Regions from separate parts of the Homo sapiens genome. Here region 2 is linked to region 1. Evidence: promoter capture Hi-C in 16 types of primary human blood cells and fetal thymus (Javierre and others, 2016). All regions are on one chromosome and are shown on one strand. The core of a region is centred on a gene start or on the middle of the fragment in contact, and the rest is flanking DNA. Distances in the headings are between cores, read along the strand shown.

Region 1 (3,041 bases), core at 212-2,711:
TGATGATGCAGTTTTAAACTAAACAATATTTCTGCCTTCGTGGAGCCATTTCTTTCAGTTAAAAAAATGCTATGAAGCAAAAGAATGCAGAATAATAGGATGGACAGCAATAGTAATGGTGTTGCTAGAAATAAACACTAGATCCTTTTTCCCTGTGTTCACACAGTTCTCCTCTTTTTGAATCCCAAACTCTCCTGCCCACTGACCACAGGTCTCCAGGGAGGATGAATAAAGGGTTAGATTCTGTTGAATTGAGTCATCTGACATCATTTAAATAAAGTTGTGGACACCAATAGAAGAGTACATGGTCATCAACAGGACGGATAGAGTTGGGTGTCGCTTTGGAGACCCTTGGAGATGCACAGCTATGCTCGGTCTCCAGGCTTGTCATAGTTGAAACTACAGAGGCGATTCTTGGAGAAGGACATTTCCCCCCAAAGAGGCAGTCCTCAATAATGCCATCTTTGTTGCAGCAGAACATCGGCAACCTTGTTCTGAGCTGAGTCCAAGTTGAGGGGAAAGAGGGGAACAGCCAGCTGTGAAAAGATCAATTTGTTTCCAATCCATTCTTTCTTATGGTTAGAGAGGCTGGCTCCCCACACTGGCTGGGTCTGTCAGGGACAGATGCCAAGTAGGGCACAGACTGAAGAAACACCCCCTGTTCCCACTGAAGCAGGAGCATTCAGCCTCTGCTCTGAGTAAGCCTCAGAGTCTATGGCATTAGCCATCCCCTAGTTAGGTTGCTTTGGGGAGACACAAGTTGGGGCAGATGAGAGGGACGCCCCAAGTCTAATTCAAAACTACAATTATTCAAACCCTCCATTTATTTATGTTTGTAAATACCCAGTGTTGGCAGGTTGTGGGAAAGCAGGGGTTACCATATACCATAGCTGAGAGTGTAAATTGGTATAACCTCTTAAGAAAACCATTTGGCAGAATCTATGGAAATTGAAAGTGCATAGACCCTATGTTACAGACAGTCTACTTCTAGGAATTTATCCTTCAGATAAATTCTCAGAAGTGCACCCAGATGAATGCACAAGGAGGATGTTTATTACAGCATTGTTTGTCACAGAAAAAGTCCAGAATCAACTGAACATTATGTTGTAGAGTAAAAGAATGAGCCACACATAGAAAGAGGTCTGAGAGAAAAAGGAGGAAGGAATATTCAGTTTGGTATGCATGGTAAAAATCTATTTATTATACATAAAGTTAACCCCTGCATCAACATGTATGTTTTACATCCTGTTGGATCTCTGCTAATACCTCTGTCTGTTCCTACCCCTATCCCAAGATTCAATAATACAAGGCAAGAAGACTCCTGTACGGCCCTGTGGATGTGCAAGATGCTAAGAATGAGTGGATATTACAGATAGATGTAAAAGTAGGAACCTTGCCAGCCTCTATTACCTTTCCTCAGTAGATCTGTCTTCCTGGGCCAGGGTGAGGTAGAAACAATAGCTAGATGAGTAATCAGTGGCTTGTATGGCTTGGCATTTTTCCTGAGCTCCCTTTGGAGAGGGAACTAAGACCATACTCAGTATTTTCAGGTTTTCAGTCTCTTCATAATTGACGGCCCATTCCCTCCTCTTATCAAATTGCACAGAGATCAAATGTGAAGGAGCCTGAAAGAAAGGACAGCGTGTATTGCTCAATTAAGAATTTGCTCCCTTCCAGCTCTAAAACATCCCCAAATTTTCCAGTTGCAAATGTTACCAAATTTACAATGACCACCAAATGTTGAATAAAACATATGTAATTCTACCCATCCTGGCAATAATTCACTGTGGAGTTTTGGTCAAGCTTCCTGCTCTCAGTCAGCCTCAGTTTTCCCTGTGGTTCATGTGATAAGGACTATGTACCTAGGGGGGCAAGAGCAGATCACCTGTGCCCCTCTCTCCCTGCTTCCTCTGACAGGCATAGCTAATCAATCACAACATGCTTTCCTACAGATCTCAGATGATTCCTCTGACTACTTCTTGACACAGAATTGTAAGCAATCACAAATATTTAATCCAAATTGATGTAAAAGTCAACATTTAATTGTCCTCTCCATACTAGATGATATCTGAAGTTCATTCCAGATTTAACATTCTGTTTCCACAATTCAAGGATTCATTTGAACGCCAGCTCGTTCATGAAGTCAACCTAGATTGCTGAAGAACAAGTTAATTTTTCCTGTTTCTGACTTATGGAGACAGAGCTATATAAGTCGATATGAACTTGACTTCTGGTTTCTTTGCATTGTTATCTCATTGTCACCTGTATAACAATGCTGCCTCCATGGGGAAATTTAATTTAAGTATAGAAAGTACATCCCATATAATAATTTTCAGACTGTGATGCATAGTACCCCCAGAGTTACTCAAAGATTTTCCATGGGCTCTAGTTGGCAGAGATAAGGAAATTTTCAGATTCTCAGCTTTCATTTGCACTCTTTCTCAGGAATCTGAAGAGAGTCCCTTTTTCGTAAATGCTTTTCTCTCACTTTACAAATGGAATTCATACCTCTCACTCATCTCGAGTTGCTTTGGGGTATAAAAATTTCTGGGGGACCAAACAAAGGTACAACTCAAAATTCTTTCGAGAAAAAGTGTTGAGAAAGTGAATGACTAATGACCTTGCAGCAAATCATTCTGCAAGTCAGATGACTTTCAATGCTTTAGTTACAACAAAACTGAAGGGGAACCTAATTAAAATGTCACCTGAGAAAGTATTAAAAATCCTATTTGATGATTGATCTTTATGTGATTTTTGGCATACAACCTGGTAAGAAGTTATAACACTGCTATAAGAAAAGTTTTTCTTTTCCCATCTACTTATTTTTGTGAATAGGTTTCTCAGTGCTTACAACCAAAAAATGAAAAGTAAATAAAATTTATGAAATACCATCTCACGTTAGCAATAATGAATATTCCTCAGCAGACATATGGCCTAATTTTTTAAAAAGTTCACCTCATTCAGAGAAGCATTTCTAATAAAACCTTATGTTTCACATCACATTTAGCAAAATTTTAATAAGTGTATGGTAGATTGATCAG
Region 2 (3,041 bases), core at 148-2,647, 480 kb after region 1:
GTCCTAATAACCAGACCCCATTGATACTTCAGCTAAGCGAGATGGGGAGATGGAATTGCTCCCATCAAGCAGCCCCAGTCATATTCCAGAGCACACTGGGGAGACCCTAGAGGCTAAGACCTGACTCCACTATCTTCCAAGCTAGGAAGTGCATGAGAAGGAGCAGGTCTGGGGGGAAGGGCAAACATCCATGCTTTCCTTTCAAAGCTTTGTGGCATCATCTTTTTTTTTTTTTTTTTTTTTTGAGATGGAGTCTCCCTCTGTTGTCTAGGCTTGAGTGCAGTGGTGCAGTCTCCAATCTCAGCTCACTGCAACTTCCACCTCCCAGGTTCAAGTGATTCTCCTGTCTCAGCTTCCTGAGTAGCTGAGATTACAGGCGCCCACCAACATGCCTGGTTAATTTTTGTATTCTTAGTAGAAAAAGGGTTTCACCATGTTGGCCAGGCTGGTCACGAACTCCTGACCTCAAGTGATCCACCTACCTTGGCCTCCCAAAGTGCTGGGATTACAGGTGTAACCACCGCACCTGGCGGCATCATCTTACACGTGTATTTTTCATATGCTTACTTGATGTCTACTTTGGCCACTAGACAGTAAGTGCCAGGAGGGCAGGGGCCCACATCAGTTTTATTCCCTGTTATGCCCCCAGATCCAGCCAGGTGCATGGCAAGTAAACAATGCCAGAAAACACTTGTGGATTGAGTGTAGTTCAACTGGGGGTGAAATGCCTCTGGGTCACAGAAGAACAGATGCCCAATCCCAGGACAGTGGCACAGCCCAGGAAGAAGAAATGCAGCCACATTGCTGGGCGCCAGTTCTATCCCCAGGTGGTCTCACATAACTCACAACCACCCCAGGAGTCCTGTTGAGAACTAAGGATTATCCAACCCAGTCATTTTGAATTCCCCTAACAACTAAACCCCCTTGAAAACAGCATTTCACAGAGTCCATTTTCTATAAAAGATCAAAGAGGAACAGCTCTGCTTGAATCAAGCTTGAGAAGGTAGGAACCCCACTAGCTCGCCCACTCCTTCCTTCTGCCCTTCCCACCCCCCCATAGGGGTGAGGCTCACAGAGGGAAAGGGACTTCCCACGAGTGCACTAGGGAATGACGTAAGTGTCAGAGCCAGGATGGGCCCAAGTCTCCTACCTTCCATATCACTGTGCTTTGCAAGACAGCCTACTGTCACTGAAGCCACCAACGTAACACAATGCAAAATACACTGCAAGAAACTCCTCCTATCACAAAAGACTTCCAAGTCCTAGACTAGGGTCTGCCTTGGGTCCCTTGAGATTCAAGAAGCTGAGGAATGATCAGCAATGGATACAAACAACCAAAACAGTTCATCAAAGCCCAATTCAAAGGCCTTCACCCAGCATAATTTTTTCCTTTCTTCTTTCAGATCTGAATGCATATGCTTCCCAAAGAAATTTTTACAAGAGAAACTTAAACCGCTACTGCCAGGAGCACTGGCCATTCCAGCCATGCCTCACTGGGAGGCCCTGAGCATTCTAGCCGGCGGCTGCACAGCTGCTGGGGCATCTCCATGAGGAAGAGGGCGGTGGACAGGAGTCATGAAGACTAATTCGGAAACTCCCCTGAAGGAGGAGAAGACATCTGAGCCATCCTTGTGCCACCAAGCAAGAGTCACTCCAGCTCCTAAAAAGCCACCATGGGAAGAGCTGCCTCCAATTAAAGTTCTTGATTGCACCAGAGGATGTGTCCTTCTCTTTTCCTTTCCCCCTTACCAACTAATGTCTTATTATTTTTAAATATATTGTCACATCTAACTAAGCTTAAAAAATTTAGCCTATTGGCTGGGCGCAGTGGCTCACGCCTGTAATCCCAACACTTTGGGAGACCGAGGCAGGTGGATCACATGAGGTCATAAGTTCAAGACCAGCCTGGCCAATGCGGTGAAACCCCATCTGTGCTAAAAATAAAAAAATCTGCCAGGTGTGGTGGCGTGCTCCTGTAATCTCAGCTACTAGGGAGGCTGAGGCAGGAGAATCACTTGAACCCAGGAGGCAGAGGTTGCAATGAGCTGAGATCTCGCCGCTGCACTCCAGCCTGGGTAACAGAGTGAGACTCCGTGAAAGAAAGAAAGGAAGGGAAGGGGGAAGGGGGAAGGGAAGAAAGAAAAAAGAGAGAGAGAGGAAGGAGAAAACAGCTTTTTGGATACCTTCTGAAATAATTCCAAATTTACAGAAATGTCACAAGAATAATACAGAGAACTCCCATTTACCTTTTACCCAGAGTCACCAATTGTTTAATCTACATTTTCCCCATTTGCACCATTTCAGCTCACTGCAACCTCCGCCTCCTGAGTTCAAGTGATTGAACTCAGTTCAATCCTGCCTCAGCCTCCCGAGTAGCTGGGATTACAAGTGCCTGCCACCAGGCCTGGCTAATTTTTGTATTTTTAGTAGAGATGGGGTTTCACCATGTTGGCCAGGCTGGTCTCGAACTCCTGACCTCAGGTGATCCGCCCTCCTCAACCTCCCAAAGTGCGGGATTACAGGCGTGAGCCACTGTGCCAGGCCAAGGTATATCTTTATTAACAGCATGAGAACGGATTAATACGGTGTATCTTTAGGGTTAATTTTTCAGCATGGACTTTTGAGCCAAATGGAAAAGATATATACAGTTTTGTTAGATGCTGCCAAGTTCTGTTCTGTAAGAGTATATGATATCTGAGATACCTGTTTCCTCATGCCCTCAGCAACTGTTTAGGCTCTCCCAATCCTACAGGTGAGAAACGGTATCTCATTTTGGTTTTAACCTGCATTTCCCTTACCATGAGTGAAGACTAACATCTATTCATATGTTTAAGGGTCATTTTTATATGTTTTTATTAATGATCTGTTTATGTCTTCCACTCTTTTTTCTTTTTCCTGTTTCCTGTTAATTTTTGAGTGCTCTTTATATACTAGAAATACTAGCTCCTCAAAGTCAAGTTTATTAATGTTTCATTGAATCTGGACTTTGGGTTGTCGTTAGCCTTTCCCTACATCCAGTTTATAGAGGAATTCACCCACAC

What was found. The method cuts DNA at HindIII sites, captures the fragments that hold promoters and counts their contacts. A CHiCAGO score of 5 or more calls a contact.
Region 2: a fragment that was not itself captured here is called in contact with the fragment with the promoter of DELEC1 in region 1 in 1 of 17 cell types (M0 macrophages); the score reaches 5.6 in M0 macrophages.

Annotation. Positions count from the first base shown.
Region 1 is chr9:115,140,238-115,143,278 of GRCh38, reverse strand. It overlaps DELEC1 (deleted in esophageal cancer 1), which reads right to left and starts at 1,461. Exons shown (of 8, transcript NR_163556.2): 1 at 1,411-1,461. The HindIII fragment of the contact is 2,096 bases long and covers 1-1,805 here.
Region 2 is chr9:114,665,109-114,668,149 of GRCh38, reverse strand. TEX48 (testis expressed 48) reads left to right here. Exons shown (of 5, transcript NM_001199233.2): 5 at 1,404-1,716. The coding sequence ends at 1,507. Among named protein-coding and RNA genes, the nearest start is that of TEX53, 8.8 kb to the right of the region's middle. The HindIII fragment of the contact is 802 bases long and covers 997-1,798 here.